2 separate regions of the Homo sapiens genome follow, and region 2 is linked to region 1. The links are contacts of gene promoters, found by promoter capture Hi-C in blood cells and fetal thymus (Javierre and others, 2016). All regions are on one chromosome and are shown on one strand. Each heading gives the region's core, a stretch centred on a gene start or on the middle of the fragment in contact. The rest is flanking DNA. Distances are from core to core; before and after follow the strand shown.

The links. The method cuts DNA at HindIII sites, captures the fragments that hold promoters and counts their contacts. A CHiCAGO score of 5 or more calls a contact.
Region 2: a contact is called between the fragment with the promoter of NDUFA11 here and the fragment with the promoter of HDGFL2 in region 1, in 1 of 17 cell types (neutrophils). The highest score is 5.1, in neutrophils.

What each region holds. Positions count from the first base shown.
Region 1 is chr19:4,468,181-4,474,147 of GRCh38, reverse strand. HDGFL2 (HDGF like 2) reads right to left here and starts at 1,851. Exons shown (of 16, transcript NM_001001520.3): 1 at 1,726-1,851. The coding sequence starts at 1,797. RefSeq lists silencers at 1,656-1,715, 1,746-1,925 and enhancers at 2,426-2,775, 3,036-3,205. The HindIII fragment of the contact is 12,260 bases long and covers 1-5,967 here.
Region 2 is chr19:5,898,931-5,905,172 of GRCh38, reverse strand. It overlaps NDUFA11 (NADH:ubiquinone oxidoreductase subunit A11), which reads left to right and starts at 1,383. Exons shown (of 4, transcript NM_175614.5): 1 at 1,383-1,561. The coding sequence starts at 1,465. It overlaps VMAC (vimentin type intermediate filament associated coiled-coil protein), which reads right to left and starts at 301. Exons shown (of 2, transcript NM_001017921.4): 1 at 92-301. The coding sequence starts at 282. RefSeq lists a silencer at 118-467 and enhancers at 508-627, 1,201-1,495, 1,305-1,951. The HindIII fragment of the contact is 6,218 bases long and covers 1-2,040 here.

The sequences.
Region 1 (5,967 bases), core at 602-3,101:
AACCTCAGCCCTGGGAGACTCAGCCCTAAGACCTGGGGATGACAATAGCCTGGGGTCCCTGCTTCCCGCTGGCCTGTACCTCTCAGGGCCTGGAACTCACCCCCTCCACACCTGGGACTCCAAGGTGCGGAATATCCTTCAGGCCAGGACACCTGGGACTATCCAGGTCGTCGGGACCCCAGCTTCCACCAAAGGGGCATCCAAGGTCCCCTCGGCCAGCCCCCTTCCCTCAGAAGCGCTCCCACTCCCTGGGCCCGGGCCTGTCTCCATTTCAAGCATTGGGGTTGGACCACCCCACCCTCAAGTCCCTCCAAAACCAGCTTCTACATCCTCCTCCCCACAGGGGACCAATCCCCAGGGTCCCCCAACAGTCCCGATGCCAACTTCATTCTAAGGTCCAGTTCCCCGAGTCCCAGTGACCCCGTGAACAGAGCCCCGAGCCCCATTCCCCCACCCCCAGCCCCTCACTCAGAGGTCCCAGCTTCCCTTAGCCTTGACCCTCAACCTTCCCCCCTGACTGCCTCCTCCAACCCTGGACCCCTAGCACATGGCCCTCGGCCCCCCAGCCCCTCAAAACTGGGCTTCTCCAGGACCCACAAGGGAGTGCTTCAGCCCCCATATCTGACCCCAAATCTCAAGTTCCGCAGTTCTGCTCAAACTTGAACCTTGAGCCCTCAGGCCTGGGATCCCCAGGCCCTCAGGTGAGGGTCCCTCAGGTCCCAGACCCTCCCAGACACCCTGCGCACGGCTCCCTGAGGCACCCTGGACACCCCCAGACACACGAGGCGTGGCTCCCTCTGGGCCAGGGCAACCCCAGATCCCCATGGTGCAGCTCCCTCAGGCACAGAAGCCCCAGACCCCCAGAGCGCAGCTTCCTCAGGCCCAGGACCCCCAGACCATTGGCGCCGCAGCTCCTTCAGGCCCTGGACACCCCCCAGATCCCCACGGCGCAGCTCCCTCAGGTCCAGGACCGCCATTCCCCCAGAGTGAGAATTTATCAGGCCCCAGACCCCCAGGGCACCGCTTCCTCGGGCCCGGGACCCCCAGACCGTCGGCGCGCGGCTCTTTCAGGCCCCAAACACCCCCAAACCCCCAAGGTGCGACTCCCTCGGGCCCAGGATACCCCCAGACTCCCAGGGAGCGACTCTCTGAGCCCCAAAACCCTCATACACCAAGGGCGAGAGTCTCTCAGGCCGCAGACACCCTCAGAACCCCTAGGCGCGGCCCCCTGAGGCCCAGGGCCCCCAGACCCCGGGGCGCGGCTCCTGCAGGGCTTGGACACCCCCAGAACCCCAGGACGCAGCTCCCTGAGGCCGAGGACCCCCAGACCCCGGGAGGGGCTCCTGCAGGCCCAGACGGCGGGTCCTGCAGGATCCGAACACCACCAGACCACAAGAACGCGGCTCCCTGCAGCCCAGGACCCCCAGGCCCCGAGGGCGGGGCTCCCTGAGGCCCAGGATCCCTAGACCCCGGGGCGCGGCTCCGGCAGGCCCCGGACAACCCCAGACCCCTAGGGCGCAGCTCCCTGCGGCCCAGGACCCCCAGACCCCCAGGGCGGGGCCGCTGCGGGTCTCGGACACCCCCAGACCCCATGAACCCCAGACCCCCGGGGCGCAGCTCCTTCAGGCCCAGGACAACCCCGGCCCTCCAGTGCCCGCCTCCGGCCCGGGGCCCCCGCTGCCCCCCCCCCCCCCCCCACCGGCCCCATCTCCCGCGCGGCCTCACCCTGGCAGGCCAGTGAGGGTAGCCCTTCATCTTAGCGAACACCAAGTCCCCGGGCTTGAAGGCGTGTGGCATGCTGACGGCGAGAGGCCCAGGCCGCGGAAAGCGGCTGCAGCGGCGGTAGCGGCTGCGGCGGCGGCGGCGGCGGCAGCGGGAGGCGAAGCCGGGGGCGGGAGCGGGACGCCGAGGGGGCGGGGGAGGCTGTCTGGGCAGCCTGCCGACGCGCGCTTATTGGGCGTTGCGCCAACGGAAGTTCAGCCCTCCGGCCGTCACGGGCCGGCAAAGCCGTCGATCAGGACCACGTGCAGGGGACAGAGAAGGGAGGCGACCAATAAGAACAGAGGTTGGAGCACAGCAGTTAACGGGATTGGATAACGGACAGACCCAAGGGGCGTAACCCAGAGACTCTAATGGGAGGTTATGGGAGGTGAAAGGGAAAGGTGGGAGGAGACGAACAGACGCTCTAAGGGAGTGAAGGGGTGGAGCTTAAGGGAAAGAGGCAGGACATAGACCTCCACAAGAGAAGGGGATATAAGGAGGGCAGAACATTGGATACCGCAGAAAAGAAGGCCAATCACTTAACGCAATGGGCGGGTCATTGACAGCCTCTCCCGCTCAGGAGGAGAGGCTTAAAGTAGATATGCAAGCCATTGGATACCACAAGAGAAGCGCCTCAAGGTAGGGAGCAGGCATTGGCCATCACAAGAGGCGGGGCTTCAGCGGGAACGTCGGCCATTGGCTATCGAAAGAAGAGCGATACAACATAAAACAGGGACGGGCGATTGCCAGCTCGAGGAGGCGGGACTTAGAGGAAGGGGCAGGCTCCGGGGGAGCTCTTAGTATAAACAGCCACAAAATGCACAAAATAGTTATTTCTTCACTTAGTTAAAAACTTAACTGAGTACCTACTATATGCCAGGGCCCCAAAACGCCACACAGACCTATTCATTCATTCAAGAAAAATGTACTGAATACCGTGGGGCCGAGTCACTTGATTGTCCTGGGCTTCGCTCTCTGCACTTGGAAGATGGGGCCCATAATGATTGTGAGGACCCTGCTCTAGACTGAGCCCGGCAACAGGAAATACAGGAAGTATTAGAAGCTATAACTCGGCCGGACGCGATGGCTCACGGCTGTAACCCCGGCACTTTGAGAGGACGAAGCGGGCGGATCACGAGGTCAGGAGTTTGAGACCAAGCCTGGCCAACATGGTGAAACCCCGTCTCTACTAAAAATACAAAAATTAGCTGGGCGTGGTGGCACGCACCTATACCAGCTACTCAGGAAGCTGAGGCAGGAGAATCACTCGAACCCAGGAGCGGGGGGTTGCAGTAAGCCGAGATCGCGCCACTGCACTCCAGACTGGGTGACAGAGCAGAAAAAAAAAAGCTATAACTCTACCTTCCGGCAGGGCGTGGTGGCTCACGCCTGTAATCCCAGCACTTTGGGAGGCCGAGGTGGGTGGATCACGAGGTCAGGAGATCGAGACCATCCTGGCTAACATAGTGAAACCCCGTCTCGACTAAAAATACAAAAAAAATAGCTAGGCGTGGTGGCAGGCGCCTGTAGTCCCAGCTACTAGGGAGGCTGAGGCAGGAGAATGGCCTGACCCCGGGAGGCGGAGCTTGCAGTGAGCCGAGATCGTGCCACTGCACTCCAGCCTGGGCGACAGCGCGAGACTCTGTCTCAAAAAAAAAACAAAAACAAAAAACAAAACTCTACCTTCCAGGAATCAAGTATAACAGGGCCAAGAAATGTTAAGTTTTAAAATTTGTTGATGTTGCTGTGTTTTGTTTTGTTTTTTGTAATTAGGATCCATGGTAAGAACTAAAATGAACCAGGGTGCTTGAGGAAAAAAAGCTGAATAATGGAGACGACTTCTTCTCTCCTGGGGGATCACAGAGGGTTACTGGATGAAGTGAGTTTAACCAGACACTGGGAGAATGAATAGAAGTTGGACATGATAGTGAGGCGAGCCCTGGGAGGGCATGAGGAGCAGAGGGAAGAGCAAAAACAAGCGTCTGATCCTCACTTAAGGTCAGGAGTACGAGACCAGCCTGGCCAACATGGTGAAATCCCATCTCTAGAAAAAATACAAAAATTAGCCGGGCGTGGTGGTGGGCGCCTATACTCCTAGCTACTTGGGAGGCTGAGGCAGGATAATCACTTGAACCTGGGAGGCGGAGGGTGCAGTGAGCCGAGATCACGCCGTTACACTACAACCTGGGTGACAGAGCGAGACTCCGTTGCAAAAAACAAACGAGACCGGGCGCGGTGGCTCACGCCTGTAATCCCAACACTTTGAGAGGCCGAGGCGGGTAGATCACTTGAAGTCAGGAGTTTGAGACCACCCTGGCCAACATGGTGAAACCGCATCTCTACTAAAAATACAAAAAATTAGCCAGGCGTGGTGGCAGGCGCCTGTAATTCCAGCTACTCGGGAGGCTGAGGCACGAGAATCACTTGAACCCGGGAAGCGGAGGTTGCAGTGAGCCAAGATCATGCCACTGCACTCCAGCCTGGGTGACAGAGCGAGACTTTGATTCAAAAAAAAAAAGAAAAGAAAAGAAAAAGCAAACAAGCAAAAACAAGAACAACAACAGCAACAACAAAAAACCCATCTGATCCTAGGATGACTGTGTGTGAGTAGGGGAAACAGATAAAGCTGGAGGGCTGGAGGGGTCCGTAGAGGACCTATCACAATACATTACAAACATAAATGAGAAGTTTGGGTTTTATTTTAACTTCTTGGGAAACTATTGGGGGGATCTGATCAGAGGATACAAAGAGAGTATTTTATTCTCAAAAAACATCCCTATGCATGTGAAATATGGATCAACAAAGACCATTTCTTTAAAACTGAAACGTAAGGCCTGGCATGGCATCTCACACCAGTAATCCCAGCACGACTGAGGTGGAAAATTCGCTTGAGCCCAGGAGTTCGAGACCAGCCTGAGCAACATGGTTAAACCCCATCTCTACAAAAAATATAAAAATCAGTTGGGCATGATCCGCACACTTCTACTCTGAGCTACTCAGGAGGCTGAGGAATGAGGATCGAGCCCAGGGAGGCAATGGTTGCAGTGAGCTGAGATTGCACCACTGCACTCCATCCTGGGCAACAGAGCTAGACCCTGTTTCAAAAAAATACAATAGGCCGGGCGCGGTGGCTCACGCCTGTAATCCCAGCACTTTGGGAGGCTGAGGTGGGCAGATCACGAAGTCAGGAGTTTGAGACCAGGGCAGCCAACATAGTGAAACCCCATGTCTACTGAAAAACAAAAATTAGCTGGGCATGATGGTGTGTGCCTGTAGTCCCAGCTACTCAGGAGACTGAGGCAGGGAGAATCGCTTGAACCCGGAGGGGGCGGTTGCAGTGAGCCGAGATTGCGCCACTGCACTGCAGCTTGGGCAACAGAGTTAGACTTCGTCTCAAAAAAATAAATAAATAAAATAAAAATTAAACATAGGCCAGGTGCCGCGGCTTATGCGTGTAATCCCAGCACTTTGGGAGGCCGAGGCAGGTGGATCACGATGTCAGGAGATCGAGATCATCCTGGCTAACACAGTGAAACCCCATCTCTACTAAAAATACAAAAAATTAGCCGGGCGTGGTGGCGGGCACCTGCAGTCCCAGCTACTTGGGAGGCTGAGGCAGGAGAATGGTGTGAACCCGGGAGGCGGAGCTTGCAGTGAGCCGAGATGGCGCCATTGCACTCCAGCCTGGGCGACAGAGCGAGACTCTGTCTCAAAAAAAAAAAAAAAAAAAAAAAGAGTTTGAGACCAGCCTAGCCAACATGGTGAAACTTTGTCTCTACTAAAAATACCAAAAAAATTGGCCAGGTGTGATGGCACATTCCTGCAATCCCAACTACTCGGGAAGCTGAGGCAGGAGGATTGCTTGAACCCAAGAGGGAGAGGTTGCAGTGAGCCGAGATTGTGCTAATACACTCCAGTCTGGGCAATAGAGCAAGACTCTGTCTGAAAACAAGAACAAAAAGAAAATACATAGACTTACCATATGACCCAGCAATTCCATTCCTACCTGCTAGGGACTGAATTTTGTACCGTCCTCTCAAATGTGTATGTGGAAGCACAGACCTCCCATGGAACCATATTGGAGATATGGCCTTTAAGAAGGCTGACCAGGCGCAGTCACTGACGCCTGTAATCCCAGCATTTTTGGAGGCCAAGGCAGGCAGATCACCTGAGGTTAGGAGCTTGAGGCTAGTCTGGCCAACATGG
Region 2 (6,242 bases), core at 134-2,633, 1.4 Mb before region 1:
CGGTTCCCCCTGCCCTTCCTCGCTTTCCAGCCTCGGCTCTGCCTCCGCCTACCGCCTCGGTGAAGTCCACCTGGCCGGCCCCGGGCCTCACCGGTCCTTGGCGCGACCCAGTTCGTCTAGGGCGGCGCGCAGCTGCTGGTCGTGGAGGGCCAGGCGCTCGGCTTGGGCGTGCACCGTGCGCTCCGCCGCGTCCAGCCGCGCCTCCAGCTCCGCTGCGCGCCGGTGCACGGCTGCCAGGTGTGCGTTTGCCTCCCGGATCTGCAGGGCCGGCGGCGCCGACATGGCCCAGGCTGCTGTACAGGCCCGGCCACGCCCCCAGGCGGCCCGGAACTGGCACAGGCCCCGCCCCCGGGAGGGCCCCGCCCCACTAGACCTCGGCGCGATTGGTCGCTGACCCCGCTAGACCCCACCCCAGAGGGCTGGGTCGTGCTCTCCTCAAACCCAAACACTACCACCGGTTCCGGGATCATGAAACTCCGCCCCTGAGTTTGGGCTCACTCTAGGATTGGACAAGATCTTGACAGCCACGCCCCCAGGCTGGCCACATCCTTTGGCGGCTCGCGCAACTCAGGCTCTGGAAACAAGATTGGTCACACCTTCGATACTGTCCCCTCCCTACTTGGAAGCTAACACCAGGATTGGCCCGGACTCCGCGAAACAGCAAGCCTGACCACGCCCCCCGAACCTGTGGCCTGTCAGGGGTAGATCCAGGCACGGCCTCGCCCCTTCATCCCTTATACAGTCTCAGATTGGTCAAGTCCCTTTTAGGTTATGCCTCCAATTCTAGCCACGCCCCCAAGTCAAGCGCCTGTGTACTTCATCCGGCCTAGGGCGTGGGACAGCCGCGGGGTGAACAGAGGCCACGTCCCGCTGAGCTTCTCGTATTGTCATTGGTCACTTTCCCGATAATCCCCGCCCCTGATCCTGTCCACGGCCCAAAACAGTAGCACGCTGCTCAGACTCCAGCTTGGTGACTGACCACAGGGCATGACCACTCGCTATGCAGATTCTGACACTGGGTGTGGCCACATCCCCGCCATGCCCCGCCCCCCAGTCATTGTTTCGTCATGTCTTGCTCCTATCAACTGGAGTCCCGCCCGTCCCAGTCTGAGCCCGGCCCCTCCCCTAGTAGATAGTCCCCGCCTCTAGTAGTCCCTAACCTAGGACTCCCTGAGCTGGGACTAGCGAAATCTGTCTGCACTGATCGCAGTCGTCCTCAGTTTCACCCTCTAGGAATCGGCCTGGGGATGCACGTGCTACTCTCTTCCTCCAGGCCGGTCCCCGGCGCGTGCGCGCGATCCATGTCCATGTCCGCGCCTATCAATAAAGTTGCTCACTTGTTGCCGGCCCGCTAGCCCGAAAGGTTGCGCGCGCAGCCCGAGAAGTCTCGCGATAGCCAGCCGCGGCTGCCCTTGCGCTTCCCGAGCTGGCGGGGTCCGTGGTGCGGGATCGAGATTGCGGGCTATGGCGCCGAAGGTTTTTCGTCAGTACTGGGATATCCCCGATGGCACCGATTGCCACCGCAAAGCCTACAGCACCACCAGTATTGCCAGCGTCGCTGGTGAGCGCCGGCCGGGCCCCGAGGGTGGAGGGCCGAGGCCGCAGGGAGGTCGTGGGGTTACTGGGGGCTGTTTGGATCGAACGGGTCTGGGAGTCTCGCGGGTACGCACGTGGTTGTCATCGGGGTGTCTTGGGCGGTCGTAGGGGGGGATCTTGTGTGAAATGGATGTTGGTAGGGGGTCCAGCAGGGTTGGGGAGCACTGGGAGGTCGTGACATGCGACAAGCTAGTCCCTGGGGTCATCTGAGGCGGTCCCAAGCTATCGCCAGGCTCGGGGAAATTGTGGAGTGAGACAGGGCTATTATCAGGTCCAAGGAGCTAAGGGACCACGAGACTTTCCAACGGGGTAGAGATTGTTAGAGGGGATCATGAGTCATGATTGGGGCATCTGAGGGCGGTACAGATGTTTGAGAAAGTTTTGGGGTGGGATGAGGTCTTTCTGTGGTCAGGGGGTGCTGGGTGGTTAGGGACACCTGAAGCTTTTACTGGGACCGCCAGAGAGGTCCTAGGTGAGGTGGATCAGGAGCTACTATGAGGGTAGCCTTGCAGGGGAATGAAGGGGACCCGCAAGCCCTGGCATTCTCCTTTTTTTTTTTTTTTTTTGAGACAGAGCCTTGCTCTGTCGCCCGGGCTGGACTGCAGTGGCGAGATCTCGGCTCACTGCAACCTTCACGTCCCTGGTTCGAGCAATTCCCTTGCCTCAGCCTCCCAAGTAGCTGGGATTACGGGCTCACGCCACCGCGCCTGGCTAATTATTTTGTATTTTTAGTAGAGACGGGGTTTCACCGTGTTGGCCAGACTGATCTGGAACTCCTGGTCTCAGGCCATCCGCCCATCTCGGGCTCCCAAAGTGCTGGGATTACAGGCGTGAGCCACCATGCCCGGCCGGCCCTGGCATTCTCTTATAGAGTAAATCTGAGTCTTGCCCCTTCCAGCCTGAGCGTTTCATGGGCATCATGCCCTTTAATTCTCAGCCACAGGTTGGGACTCATCAGGTCCCAGATGGAGCTGGAAGTCCTCTTCCCTCTGATGAAGAATCTTTACAAACTGGGCCAGGCGCGGTGGCTCACACCTGTAATCCGGCGCTCAGGAGGCCAAAGTGGGAGGATCGCTTGAGGCCAGGAGTTCCAGACCAGCCTGGGCAAAATAGCAAGATCCCCATCTCTGCAAAAAAGTAAAACAATTAGCTGGGCATGATGGTGCGTACCTGTAGTCCCAGCTACTCAGGAGGCTGAGACAAGAGGATCACTTGAAACCAGGAGTTCAAGGCTCTAGTGAGCTATGTTTGCACCACTGCACCCCAGCCTGGGCGACAGAGCGAGACCTTGTCTCAAAAAATAAAAATAATAGGCCGGGCATGGTGGCTCACACCTGTAATCCCAGCACTTTGGGAGGCGGATCATGAGGTCAGGAGATTGAGACCATCCTGGCTAACACGGTGAAACCCCGTCTCTACTAAAAATACAAAAAATCAGCCAGGCATGATGGCGGGTGCCTGTAGTCCCAGCTACTTGGGAGGCTGAGGCAGGAGAATGGCGTGAATCCAGGAGGCAGAGGTTGCAGTGAGCCGAGATTGTGCCACTGCACTCCAGCCTGGGCGACAGAGTGAGACGCTGTCTCAAAAAACAAAACAAAACAAAACCAGCCGGGCGCGGTGGCTCACGCCTGTAGTCCCAGCACTTTGGGAGGCCGAGGCAGGTGGATCACGAGGTCAGGAGATCGAGACCATCCTGGCTAACACGGTGAAAACCCGTCTCTACTAAAAATACAAAAAAAATTAGCCGGGCGTGGTGGTGGACACCTGTAGTCCCAGATACTCAGGAGGCTGAGGAAGGAGAATGGCGTGAACCTGGGAGGCGGAGCTTGCAGTGAGCCGAGATTGCGCCTCTGCACTCCAGCCTGGGCGACAGAGCAAGACTCCGTCTCAAAAAGAAAAAAAAAAAAAAACCCAAAGAAACAGTCTTTACAACCTGGTGTGTCTATAAGCTGAGGAATCAATTTGGTCAACTCTGTATTTCCAGCATATGTGAAACAGGGCCCGGCCAAAGTTGCGGCTCCATTGGGAGGCATTTGAATTAGGGCAGACCTAATCATCACTCCCATATTTTGCATATTTATTAATAGTAAGACAGACGTTATTGTGTCTCCATTTCTTACAGGTAGGGACTGAAGGTTGGAGAAGCATATTAACTGCTCCAGGGTCATTTGAAGCTGGGCTGCAAGTCCAGGTCGGCTGACCTGCTCCTAGGGGTCTCTGAAGCAAGGAATGTTCCCATCAGGTCCTTATCGAGGGTCTTCAAGAGAAAGGGCTGAAGGGGGCCACCCAGGGGATAGGATCTGAAACTGAGAAAGACGCGTATGTTGGTGTTCATGTGAGAGAGTGTGTGCATTCCTCATGTGTGAATACAAAATGAGTGGGCTGCGGTCTCAGGAGGCCTTTGGAGGAGACAGCTTGTCTCGGGGTGTGGTGCTGCTGAGTGAAGGGCCTCTGAGACCGGGGGTGCTCCCCAGAGGGTCTTAGAAGGGGAGGTCAGAACTTTTGACAGAGTTGCCATGTCAGGAGATCGCTGATGGCATCAGATTTAGATTTAGGGGTGCTCAGTGGCTTCTGTGAGCCCTCCAAGGGTGCCCCGGGGTCTTTGAGAGTGACATTCATTCTCCCTAAATTTTTCTTTTTTCTTTTTTCTTTTTTTTTTTTTTTTTGAGACGGAGTCTCATTCTGTCACCCAGGCTGGAGTGCAGTGGTGCGATCTTGGCTTACTGCAACCTCTGCCTCCCAGCAATTCTTGTGTCTCAGCCTCCCAAGTAGCTGGGATTACAGGTGCCTGCCACCGTGCCTGGCTAATTTTTGTATTTTTAGTAGAGACAAGGTTTCGCCATGTTGGCCAGGCCGGTCTCAACCTCCTGACCTCAGGTGATCCGCCCGCCTTGGCCTCCCAAAGTGCTGGGATTACAGGCGTGAGCCACTGCACCCACCCTTCTCCCTAAATTCTTCAGTGACCAGCTCCACTCATTGTGCAGAACTTGCTGAAACGTGTTTCTGGGTCCTCCCCTCACTGCCCCACTCACTTCATTCCGGGGCTCCCCTCACTTCTCATCTGAGGGAGATAAATTGTTTCCTGGCTGGCTTCCCTGAGTTGGGGACCCTGGACGGCGGGGAGACTATACTCAGCAGAGCCCAGGACCTGTGGGCACATGATAACTATGGATGAATGAATGAATGAATGAATGAAGCATCTTGTGGGCACCATTTGTGAGTGAATGAATGAGTGAATGTGGCACCTTGTTAGGTACTCGGTAACTTTGTGAATGAATGAATGAGTGGCAGTAGCTGAATGAATGAATGAATTCACACTGGGTCTGGCGGTCACTGTGGGAGGCTCAGAGGAAACCAGCAGTTTCCCTTCAGAGGGAAGGGGGCCTTTTGAAGGGCGCTGGGGGCTCCTGGAGGGGTGGATATGGCAGGACACCACAGCTGGATGACAGCTGGGGCAGAGTTGGGGTGGGGCAGTCCTTGACCTCTATGGGATAATCAGGGGGTCCCAGCTCGTCCACTCCCAGTTCAAGGACTTTGGAAGGGATGGAGGATGGTGGGCGCACTCACCGTGTCAGGTGTGCTCCATGAGCTAGGGGTCCCTTGGTCAGGACAGCTGGCATGTGGGGGTGGTGTAAGGAGGTTCCGCCCAGGAGTCCCTCGGTGACAGTTCTGGGGGCGTCACTGAGTCTTGTCGGTGGTTCCCTCTTGAGATGAGAGGGTTATAAGACTGTCATGGCTGGCCCAGCCCTGGATCAGGACTTTTCAGGTCCCAGGCAGGGCTGGCAGTCCCCTCCCATTAAGAATCTTCAAGTCCGGGCATGGTTGCTCAGGCCTTTAATCCCAGCACTTTGGGAGGCTGAGGTGGGTGGATCACCTAAGGTCAGGAGTTTGAGACCAGCCTGGCCAACATGGTAAAACCCCGTCTCTACTAAAAATACAAAAAATAATAATAATAATAATTAGCTGGGCATGGTGGCAGGCGCCTGTAATCCCAGCTACTCAGGAGGCTGAGGTGGGAAAATTGAACCAAGGAGGCAGAGGTTGCAGTGAGCCAAGTTTGCACCACTGCACTCTAGCCTGGGCAACAGAGCAAGACTGTCTCAAAAAAAAAAAAAAAAAAAAAAAGAGTCCGGGCGCGGTGGCTCACGCCTGTAATCTCAGCACTTTTGGGAGGCCGAGGCGGGCGGATCACGAGGTCAGGAGATGGAGACCATCCTGGCTAACACGGTGAAACCCCGTCTCTACTAAAAATACAAAAAATTAGCCAGGCGTGGTGGCGGGCGCCTGTAGTCCCAGCTACTCGGGAGGCTGAGGCAGGAGAATGGTGTGAACCCAGGAGGCGGGGCTTGCAGTGAGCCGAGATAGCGCCACTGCACTCCAGCCTGGGCGACAGAGCGAGACTCTATCTCAAGAAAAAAAAAAAAAAAAGAATCTTCATAGACTCCAGCTCTCTTTCAATTAGTAAATACATAAAAGAATTTGGAAGGGGGGGATGTGTGTGTGTGTGTGTGTGCACTGACTGAAGTGTGACTGAGGATGGGGCTGCTGGGCCAGGAGCAGGTGGGGAGTCCTGGGGGGACGGCTGTACTGGACTCCAGTCCCTTACCGTGGATGCAGTAGCAACCCCCTTTCCTGCCACAGCCCCC